Regions from separate parts of the Homo sapiens genome. Here regions 2 and 3 are each linked to region 1. Evidence: promoter capture Hi-C in 16 types of primary human blood cells and fetal thymus (Javierre and others, 2016). All regions are on one chromosome and are shown on one strand. The core of a region is centred on a gene start or on the middle of the fragment in contact, and the rest is flanking DNA. Distances in the headings are between cores, read along the strand shown. Region 1 holds the start of AAR2 (AAR2 splicing factor). Region 2 holds the start of SLA2 (Src like adaptor 2). Region 3 holds the start of TGIF2 (TGFB induced factor homeobox 2).

Evidence for each region. Contacts are between HindIII fragments. The CHiCAGO score rates a contact against its expected background, and 5 or more counts as called.
Region 2: the fragment with the promoter of SLA2 here is called in contact with the fragment with the promoter of AAR2 in region 1 in 2 of 17 cell types (erythroblasts and total B cells); the score reaches 5.5 in erythroblasts.
Region 3: a contact is called between the fragment with the promoter of TGIF2 here and the fragment with the promoter of AAR2 in region 1, in 11 of 17 cell types (erythroblasts, total B cells, megakaryocytes and 8 more). The highest score is 14.1, in erythroblasts.

The regions. Positions count from the first base shown.
Region 1 is chr20:36,234,919-36,238,520 of GRCh38, forward strand. AAR2 (AAR2 splicing factor) reads left to right here and starts at 1,560. Exons shown (of 4, transcript NM_001271874.2): 1 at 1,560-1,585. LOC105372602 (a long non-coding RNA gene) reads right to left here and starts at 1,548. Exons shown (of 3, transcript XR_936695.2): 1 at 1,440-1,548. The HindIII fragment of the contact is 9,166 bases long and covers 1-3,602 here.
Region 2 is chr20:36,644,203-36,647,804 of GRCh38, forward strand. SLA2 (Src like adaptor 2) reads right to left here and starts at 1,994. Exons shown (of 8, transcript NM_032214.4): 1 at 1,635-1,994. The HindIII fragment of the contact is 2,848 bases long and covers 148-2,995 here.
Region 3 is chr20:36,571,613-36,575,214 of GRCh38, forward strand. It overlaps TGIF2 (TGFB induced factor homeobox 2), which reads left to right and starts at 1,985. Exons shown (of 3, transcript NM_021809.7): 1 at 1,985-2,133. TGIF2-RAB5IF (TGIF2-RAB5IF readthrough) reads left to right here and starts at 2,903. Exons shown (of 5, transcript NM_001199535.2): 1 at 2,903-3,023. DLGAP4-AS1 (DLGAP4 antisense RNA 1) reads right to left here and starts at 1,663. Exons shown (of 5, transcript NR_109939.1): 1 at 1,300-1,663. RefSeq lists enhancers at 1-483, 1,102-1,161 and silencers at 1,662-1,981, 2,012-2,101, 2,172-2,341. The HindIII fragment of the contact is 13,842 bases long and covers 113-3,602 here.

The DNA of each region.
Region 1 (3,602 bases), core at 310-2,809:
GGGAGCTTTGAGACCAGACCATAGAGCTCAGCACTTAAGACTGGGAGTGGGGAGGGGTGGAGAGGGAGCTGAGCTTCTTCATGCAGGAGATGAAACTTGACAGGACAGGCTGAGATTGGTAAGCATGACTGTGACTGATGGAGGCTGTCTCTGGTTAATCCTGCAGCAGCTCATTGTGATTAACCATGACTGCAGGGCCCGGTCTAGTCTGCAACCCACTAAGAGATAAATTTTGACCGAGACAGATTGGCGTGTCCAGCTGTCACTGAGGAAATGTGACAGACAAGCTAAGGAGCAGCAGCACAAGAGATAAGAACAGACAGCCCTTGGTTTGCATTCTAGCTCTGCCATTCTCTGGCTGTGTAACATCTCTTTGAACCTCAGTTTTCTCTTCTGCAAATTGGGAATACACATACCTTACAAGGGTTAGTGCAAGGATTATAAATACCCAAGTGGGCCGGGCACGGTGGCTCATGCCTGTAATCCCAGCACTTTGAGAGGCCAAGGTGGGCAGATCACCTGAGGTCAGGAGTTCGAAACCAGCCTGGCCAACAAGATGAAACCCCGTCTCTACTAAAAATACAAAAATTAGCCAGGCACGGTGGTGGGCGCCTGTAATCCCAGCTACTTGGGAGGCTGAGGCAGGAGAATGGCTTGAACCCAGGAGGTGGAGGTTGCAGTGAGCCGAGATAGCGCCATTGCACTCCAGCCTGGGTGACAGAGTGAGATTGCGTCTCAAAAAAAGAAATACCCAAGTGGCCTGCCCTAAAATCACATAAGCCAATTCTTGGCAATAAATCACTTAATATAGATCTCCTACTGGCTCTGTATCTTTGGTGGAACCCTGATTAATAGTGCAGGGTTAGACCCACAAATAGTTATTTATTAATACCAAATTATCATCATTATTAATTAAATGCATAATATATGTACTCAGCTGAGCTTTTGTGCCTGGCTTTGTGCTCGGTTCCAGGGAAACAGTGAGGAACAAGACAGGCAGATTCCTTCCCTAGTGCGTTGATAGCCTGACTGAGATGTTAGGACTTGGCCTGCAGGAAGGACACGGGGTGATAATGGCCAGAGGGACTGAGGTGGCGACCGCTGCTGCTGCAGCAGCGGAGGCTGACGCTGGTTCTCTCTGGGCTGGTGGCTGGGTTTCTGAGGCTCTCCCCGAGGGCTGAGTGTGACTGGAAGCTGAGACACTGTGACCGGGATAGAGACTGGCTGACAAAGACAGTGACCGAGCGCCTGACTGGCTACTTCTGAATAGTAGCCACTGGTACAAGCCTTGGCTGTGCTTTAGTGACCATGACTGCTTGAGCCCAAAGTAAGATGGCTGGTGGCTGTGTTTCTGGACGGGGATATAAAATGCATAGGTTAATGAAAGTTGTTCACAATTCAGAAGCTAAAACGAGAAACTAAGAATAACAAAAGGCAACCTTGCATCCGGCGGAACCTGCAGGCACGGGCCATTCTTCCCGCGACCCAGGGCTCTGCCGGACCGCTTCCCCCGTCGCTCCAGTCAGACGCCAAAGCTGGAGAACTTCCGGTGCGTTTCCGCTGTACCGGAACGTGGGGCGAGGCGGTGAGTGTGGCCTCCTGGCCTCTTTTTCCTTTCCTGATTCCTTGTGTATGTGTGGCTGGGCCGCCCCTCTTCTCGGCTCAGAGTCACGGAGTGCCTTGAACTAGGCCCACCTCGCCGGGGCGGCTGGTTCTCTGTTTGTGGGACGCTGGTGTCTCTGGAGGCCCTTCCTGAGAAGCCGTCGCCAGAGTTACGTCGCGGTTTTCTTAACTTTAGAGCCTGGGGGCCGGAGACCCTGATTGCACTCGACCTGGCTCTGCCCTACTCTCTGCGTGACTTCCAGTAAGGTCTTTCCCCGAACTGAGGCTTTGTTTCTCGTTTACAAAATGGATATCATACTTGTATTAAATAAATGTTTACTAAGCGTTGAATCTGTGCTAGGGATACAGCAGGACTCAAGTCTCGTGGCGATGACAGCCTTCAATCAAACATCCAAAACTGCAGTTGTGATCATTGAGACGGAAAGGTACAAGGCACCCCAGATTATATCACAGGAGACCTGACCTAGCCCCAGGGCAAGGAACCTTTACTGAGGAGGTGAATATTGAGCTGAGATCAGAAAAAAGGATTTGACAAAGTGGGGAGGGAAGAGTTTTCTATATGGAGACAGCCTCCAATTTCAGGTTCTGAAAGAGGCCGTTGTGGCTGGAACAGAGAGCTTGTGGGGGACCATTGTGTGACACAAGCTAAAGGGGTTGCCAGGAGTCAGACCGTGCAGGCTTTGTAGGTAATAGGAAGAATTCTGGTTTTTCAAGAACCATATGGGAAACCACTCAGAAGCTGACATGGGTGGTGTTGTGATTAGATTGGCATTTTGAAAAGGTTACTGCTGTTGAATGGAGAATGGGTTGAGGAGCAAGCACTCTGAGTGAGGGACGATGGTAGCTTGGATTAGGGAGGTGGTGGAGAGAAGTGGATGGATGTGACTTTAGGTGTTCCAGGACTGTGAGGAACTCACAGAGCTGTCAGTGACAGGGGCTGGTAGACTGCAGAGTTCTATGCATATTTAATAAACGTTTTCCTAGCATCTCCTCTGTGCTAGGCCCTGTGCCAGCTGCTGGAGATATAGTGAATAGAATTACAGACTGGTGGAATTAGCATGAAAGAAACGTCATTATCAAGGAGGAGCACACAGATGTCACAAGGGAAAATGGCTAATTGATGAGCTGTTATTGTAAATGGAATATCTGTTCATTCAGCAAATATTAAATACTTTCTGAATTCAGGATTACAAATAGGAAGATGATACGTATTATTATTATTATTATTATTATTATTATTATTATTATTATTATTATTTTGAGACGGAATTCGCTCAGACCCCCAGGCTGGAGTGCAGTGGTGTGATCTCAGCTCACTGCAACCTCTGCCTCCCAGGTTCAAGCAATTCTTCTGCCTCAGCTTCTCAAGTAGCTGGGACTACTGGCGCACACCACCATGCGCGGCTAATTTTTTTTGTATTTTTAGTAGAGATGGGGTTTCACAGTATTGGCCAGGCTGGTCTCAAACTCCTGACCTCATTATCCATCCGCCTCGGCCTCCCAAAGTGCTGTGATTACAGGCGTGAGCCACCACGCCCGGCCTGTTGATACGAATTATTTAGAGCAGAGTCTTTCAAACTTTTATGACTGTGACCTACAGTAACGAATACATTTTATGGCACAACCAAGTATACACACAAACACACAAAGCTCCAGAAAACAGTACTTAGCTTTACTACTCATGATGTATTGTGATATTTCAAAAATTCTGTTATTTTCGTTTAAAAAATAATGCTGGTTGAGACCTTCACATTGATTTCCTAATCCACTAATGGATTGTGACTTGCAGTTTGGTGAAACACAAAGTGCTGATTCAGGGTAAGAGTCATTTGTGGTGGTTTTGAGGTAACAATGATAAAATGTGCTCTTATTTTTGGAAAAGGATTGGTCTTCCTTTCTGCACTGCTTTATTTAAAGTAAAAAGGGTAAACAGGGCCAGGCATGGTGGCTCACACCTGTTATCTCAGCACTTTGGGAGG
Region 2 (3,602 bases), core at 744-3,243, 410 kb after region 1:
TTGAACTCCTGGGCTTAAGCGATCCTCCTGGGGAGGATTTTTACAAACCCAAGACCAGGAAACCCCAGGGAGAGAACCTCTGGCTTGGGTAGCATGAGTGCCCACTTGAACCTGGCTGGAGCTGTGTGGCCTCAGGCAAAGCATGCAAGCTTCCCCCGTCTCATCTGTGAACAAGGTGCACTACAGGCGCCACGGGGCTGTGGGGAGAGTTGCAGGAGTCTGGCACAGAGTGGGTGCTCAGTAAGGCTTAGTTTCCTTTCCCCTCCTTCAGGAAGACCACAGTTACCACCTGCAATAAACTGAGAGACTCCTTCCTGCCGCAGGTGGAGCTGGGGGCTGGGCCCAAAGGCAGATGGAGACAGGGGAGCTGTACTCAGGCTGAAAGCCTCCCCAAAGTCTCTGCAGCTCCCTTCACCTGGTCAAGGACTTGGTCAGGTCAAGGCCAATAAGCCCCTGGGGGCAAAATAAAGACCATACAATGGGCCAGCCTAGGAGGAGGCAGAGTATTAGCCGCACATTTTGTAAGACAGCATCAAATCATTAACTCTACAAATTTTTGAAAAACTTACTATGTGCCAGGCACTTTCCGGAGGACATGAGGCATCGGGTGAAAGGAAAAAGTTAGTCAACGGCAGCCGAGATGAGCACGCTGCCCAGAATATTGTGTTTTTTTTTTTTTTTTTTTTTTCAGTATCTCACTTGGGTCCCATTTCAGATACAGTGACCAAGTCCCTGAGAGGACAACCATGTGATTCTGTTCATGTAGCCCATTCGTGCAGGACTGGGCCTGCCATCATGTGTATTTTGTGCTTCTGAAGATCATTTTTCAGCAGTGGGGGTAAGAGTGATGAATTTGGCCAGGCACAGTGGCTCATGCCTGTAATCCCAGCAATTTAGGAGGCTGAGACAGGAGGATTGCTTGAGGCCAGGAGTTCGAGACCAGCCTGGGCAACATAGTGAGAACCCCCACCCCCACCCCCACCACCGCCTGCCATCTCTACAAAAATATAACGAATTAGCTGGGCATGGTGGTACATGCCTGTAGTCTCAGCTACTTGGGAGGCTAAGGCAGGAGGATCACTTGAGCCCAGTGGTTCAAGTCTATAGTTAGTCATAATTACGCCGCTGCACTCCAGCCTGGGTAACAGAATGAGACCCCAACTCAAAAAAAAAAATGAATTTGGATTGAGTTAAAGGGAGACCTCTCCCTCTCTTCCAATTGAGAAATATCACCCCTTTGAGAGTGAGAGTGCACTGTAGGCTCTACAGCTGAAATGTCTTGAGAGATGGTAGCCCTCACGTTCCTGACTTTGGAGTCTGACTGCAGCGCAGAGAGGGGCCCAAAGTCACACAGCAAGTGCGCACCTGAGATGGGACTAGGACGGGCGTGAAGACAAGCTGCACGGAAGAGCGTAAGCTCCAAGAGGAGGTCAAAGGTGGAGCAGGTGAGTCTTGGTTCTTCTGGGACCCCCAGAAACCACCCCTCTTTACAGCCTCAGTAGAACCACTCCCCCTTCTCCTTGAGCTTGTTTTTTTCCCAACAGCAAATAAAGCCCAGTCCCAGTCGGGGCAGGGGAGACCATTCTTCCTCACCTGTCTCCAGGCCATCCAAGAACAAAAGCAAGCATACTTACTGGTTTGTCATCAAAGGCTTGGGAAGACAGCTCTGCTGAGACGCATGCTCTGGCTGGACAGGTTAGGGCTTTGGGGGCCCTTCTGGAAGTCTGCCAGTGTCCTTGGTCCTAGGACACCCAGAACTCTCTCAGCCTGGGAGGATCTTCAGGGAGAGGCTAGGTGTTGGTTTGGGTAGCTCAGCATCTGTCTGCAGTCAGCAGTTTGTACACCAGGGATGGATCAGCTGCCCCATGCTCCTTAGGGATTCTGGACTGGGGAACCCTCCCAAGCACAGCCGAGCCAGGGAGGGAAGGCCCAGGGCCCTTTGAGCTCTGTCACAGAGACACAGGCGTGGGGTCCTTGGAGCTCTAGCTCCGACTGCAGACTCTGTGGTTCTCACAACCACCCGTTTCCTCTGACGGCATCACAGACCGTCGAGGAGCCACCTTCCCCAAGTTCCTGTTTCTAGGGGAGCAGCTGCTGCCTTGTCATGATCGTGGAGCAAAAGGTTTTTCTCTGGCTTTGTGGCTTAGTCTTGTCCAAGGAACACAGGACTGAGGAAAATGAGCCGGAGTTCCCATGCTGGCCTGACCATAATAATCACTCAGCGGGACTTAATTGTAGCAATTTCTGGGATCTCCCAAACTTTCTAAATCCAAGTCTCCAGATAGGGAGCCCAGGAATCTAAATTTTAAACCCTGCAGGAGATTCCCTTGACTGACGAGTGTGGGAAGCACTGCCTTCTCAGCCTTTAATGTGTATAGGAATCACCTGGGGATCTTGTTGCACTGCAGGCTCTGATTCAGAAGGTCTGGGGCAGAGTTCAGTATTTTGCATTTCTAATACGCTCCCAGGTGACCCCCATGTTGCCAGTCTGGGGACCACACTTTGAATAGCAGCAGTATCTGGACAGTGGTCTCCAAGTATGGTCCCTAGACCAGCAGCCTCAGCGGGAATTTGTTAGACATGCAAATTCTCAGGCCGCATCCCAGATCTATGGAATCATACTCTGGAGGTAGGCCCAGCAATCTGTTTTCATGCCTCCAGGTGATTCCGATGCATGCCCAGGCTTGATTTTTTTTTTTTTTTTTTTTTTTTTTTTTTTACAGGGTCTTGCTTTGTCACCCAGGATAGAGTGCAGTGGCACAATCATAGCTTAGTGCAGCCTTGACCCAGGCTCAAGTAATCCTCCCTTCTCAGCCTTGAGTAGCTAGGACTACAGGTGTGCACCAGCACTCCTGGCTAATTTTAAATTTTTTTTGTACAGATGAGGTTTCACTGTGCTGCTCCATCTAATCTCAAACTCCTGGCCTCAATTGTTCCTCCCACTTCCACCTCCCTAAGTGTTGGGATTACAAGCATGAGCCACAGTCCATGCCCAAGCTTGAGAATCACTGGTCTAGGATAAAGAATCTGACTCTGGCTGAATTGTCTTTGATCAGTGTGTTACCTTCAGTCCCACTCTTCATTAAGATTTAACCACACCCTCTCGCTGCTTCCCCATTAGGGGGATTAGTACTCTTGGAGACAAAGGGCCCACTGCACTGAAATGATTCCTGACTCCAGCTCAGCCCATGCAGCCCTTTCTGGGGCCTTGCCAGCTACAGCACTCCTGCTCAGGTTCTCCTTTGATCCTAGGGAAGGCTGGTTTGATTTTTATCCTTGTAGGCACTTGGCACACAGAGCTGAAGGAGCCAGAGTGGAGGCACACTTCTGCAAGAGAGTTCTAATCAGGACGTTAGAATGGGTGACAGCCACTCAGGGATGTGGGCCTTGGCAGGGAGGGACTTGAGCTTGAGCCCACCTTCCCACTCCTGCTGCCATACAACTGTAATGCCCGTCTTCTTATGATACGCACATCTTCAAAACAAGCCTCAAGGTGCAGTTCATGAATGGGGCAGGAAGTAGGGAATCTCTGGTCTCTTCTTAAAAGAATCCCACGGCATAACTCTCCTTTTCTACTTAGGGAGGCACCTAAGAATTACAAA
Region 3 (3,602 bases), core at 735-3,234, 340 kb after region 1:
AGTGGAATTACTGTCTTAGAGAATCTACACATTTTAAATTCTGATACTTACTAGTTCAGAAACTTGACACGGTAATTCTCAAACTCTAATTGCACTTAGGCTTTATCTGTGAAGCTTGCTTACGTGCAAAATCTGACCGGCTACCAGCCTCCCTCCACCACTACCCCGTCCTCCAGGAGAGAGGAGGGGCTCCAGGTCTTTGTTATGCAGCTCTCAGGTGGAGGAGGAGGCAGCACTCCCCCGCTTCCATTTTCCCAACCACATCTAGCACCAGACTTGGGAAACACTCGTCTAAGGGGCTGCTGCAGGCACAATTTACGGTGCGGTCTCTTCCTCTAGCCCAGGCCCCCAGTGGCTTCCCCAGAAAGGGCAGAATGTGGCTCTTACGCATACAGGAGAAAAACGCCTAGTGCGGAGTTCAAGCTCAGCAGCCACTACCAGAGCCCCCTCTCCAGGCTCACCTGGTCGCACCCATTTCCCCCTGGGGCTCCCCTCTTCTGAAGGTCCCTGTCCCATACATTTCCTAGAGGCCAAGGCCCATTGGTTTTACATTTCTTACCTAAGGCAACCCAGACGTGGCTTTTTCTTTCACAGGGCCGTGGGGGGAGCACCACTTCCCCGGCCAAAAAAATTGTTTCTGACCCACACTCTGGGCCTTATTTTCCCTGTCTGTGAAATGGAGAGCAACAGGCAGTGCCACTGACATTTCACCCGCTGCCGTGAGGAGGTTTTTAACATTTGCAGGAAGTCTGGCTTCTATGGGGTGTCCAGGTGAAACCTTAACAATCTTTAATCAGCATTCTGATTGGCTTAAGGCTTGTTTGGAAAAAATTAAGAGTTTTGTTCCTAGAGTTCTCCATTGCTAAAGGGTAATTAAGTCCAAAAGCTGTTTTCAAAGCGATTTCCAAGCTCAAGGGCCCTAGATATCTGGACCTAGCCGTGTCCGGGTACAGGGCTGGGGGGCGTGGGGGGATGCCCTAAGAGGCTGGTTAACAGAAATATCACAGTATGTGGTACCCACAGCAGAGAGCAGGGAAGAATGTACTGACTGGGGTGGGGGAGGCCAAGGAAAACCTTCTGGAGTAGGGTGTAACTGGCAGAAGAGGAAAAAGAAACCAGACAGGAACTCCGGGAGCTCCTGGACTGATCGTTTAAGGCCGGGCACAAGGGGTAAGGGATCAGGCTTCACTATCGACCGACCTGGGCTGAATGATACCGGTTGACTGTGTGACAAAAGCAAATCAAGAACCTCTCTGCGGCTCATGAGTAAGCCAGAGACTTACATAGGACAACACATACCCTATCACCCGAGGATGAGACGGGATGACACACACGAAGTGCCCCGCACAGCGTCGTTGTAAAGCGTTGGCTGTTTTCACCTCTGGCCGCCCCCTGTGAGCCCGATCATGTGCTTTTTGGGCTTAGGTCGGAGGCGGCCTCCCAGATTCTACAGGCCATTGAGGTCGTAACAAGCGTCTCCATCAGAGCCTAGTCCTTAACTAGCTGCGGGTAAGTGCCCGGACTAAGTGGCCTCAGTTTCCCCTCGAAGCAACGGGACCAATCGCACCGCCGGCAGGACATCTTGTGCGGGGCGCGAAGTGACAAAAGTCAGGATTTGCAGAAGTTCCCACTCGGTAACGACCCCCACCCCGGCAAGGAGCACAGTAGGCGCTCCGGAAACGCCCTCCACGAGGAGGGCCGGGCCACTTCCTGCCCCCGAGCGGGCTCTCCCCGGCGGAGGCTCCCACCGCCGCTATGGGTAGGCCATGCAGCATTCCTGAGGGCGGGGTGGGCGCAGGAAGAAGGTGCCCGCGGCCCCGCCCCCTCCGGGCGCGCTGGGCGGGGCGAAGCCCCTCGGCGCCGACGGCCCGCCCCGCGGGGGGTGGGCGCAGCTCGTCGCGCTCCGCACAAAGTTTGTTTTCTCCCTCCGGGCGGGTGGGGGAGGGCGCAGAGGGCGCGGGGGGAGGAGAGGGGATCTGACGTCAGGCCGCGAGGTGCTTTCCAGCCGCGAGCTGTCAGGCCGAGTGTCAGGCCGGGCAGGTACGCGGCGCGCGCCCCCGGCGCCCCCCGCTCCCCGCCGGGACGCCCCGCGCCGAGCCGGAGGCCGCGTGGACCCGAAAGCCGCTGGGAAAAGTCAGTGCAGGGAGCAGCAGAGGGCCAGATGGGGGTGGGGGCGCGCGGACAACTTGGAAAGTTTCTTTTTCTCGGCCGGACGGGGAGGGGGCGTCGTCCTGGCGCGTGCGGTAGGGGGTGTGTGAGCTCGGGGGTGTTTGTGAGTCCCGACGGCCCCCGGGGGGTGTTTGTGAGTCCCGACGGCGCTGCGCTCCGGGGGCCGGTGGGGGACTGTTCCAGCCCCCGGGAGGAAGCCCGCTTGGGGCCCTGGTGGGGGGCCCAGCTTCATAGGATCCCACCCCAGGAGAGGGCCGATCCTGCACCGGACCTGAGTGAGCGCGCGGGGGGACGGATTTGTTTGGTTTCAAAAGTGCACGTTGCTAACCGCCAGCAGGGCCCCCCCGCCGCCGAGCCGGACAGGGGGCGGCCGAGAGTGACAGCTGGGGGTGGGGGCCGCGGGAAGGGCCCGGAGCGGGGGGGCCCTGGGGAGCCCGCGCGAGTTCCCCTTTCCTTTGGAACAAAGGAAAGTCTGTCTCCGAGGCATCTGTCACTCCCAGGCTGGCCAAGGAAGCGGGGCGCGTGGGGCCGGCGCCCCGGAGAAAGTTTGTTCGCGCCGGGACCCTCGGGCAGGCCGAAGGTGATCCAAGCCTCCCGCGGGAGAAGCGCGTAGTCTCCGGGGCAGGGGGCGGCCAACATGGAGTCTGGGCGCAGGGCTGGGGGGGGGGGGGCGGCGCGGAGGTGGGAGCCCAGCCCCCTCCCCTCCCTTCCCCTCCCCTCCCCCTCCGGGCCCAGTTCGGAGCACAAAGCCGAGCGCGCACGCTCCGCCGTCCCCGCGCCCCGAAGAGTCGGCCAGCCCCGAACTGCCGGAGTAGGGGTGGGAACCAAACTTTTTCCTGCCCCGGGACAGACACGTGAGTTTTCTTTCTTCCAGAGCCCCCGTCCCACCGGGATGGCGGGCCCGCGCGGGAGCTGGTGCGCGGAGTCGGCCCGGGGTGTGGGGACTGTGGGGTGCAAGCGCCCCGAGCGCCGGACGATTCCTCGCCGACCCAGGAGCCATGTGCTCCGACTCGGTCTGGGCCGCGGGGGAGGTTGCGCGCTTTGTCTGAACTGCTGGGAATGCGGGCGTGAGTGCGCGGCCCGGGGGAGTGTCGGGACCAGCTAGGGGAGTTGTCAGAAAGTTCGTGCGGGAGTGGCTGCAGGTGGCGTCGTGGGAGTCTGTAGGAGGGTGTACGGGATGTTGTGTCGAGGGGTTGCTGCCACAGGTCACTGAGGGTAGAACTGATTGTTAGTGTGATGACGCCTGGAGTTTTCCCTGTCGGAGAGATCGGGGGTGGCCGGGTCGGTTGGAGTTCGTGGGTGGGCGGGTACAGAAGTTGGGCTAGTTGTGTGGGTCACAGTTGTTCGTGCTAGGCCTGGGGTCTGTAAGCTGTGCGTGTGCGTGCTGTATGCGTCGGTGAAAACCCTAGGGTTTGTAAGGCTTGAGCGATGGG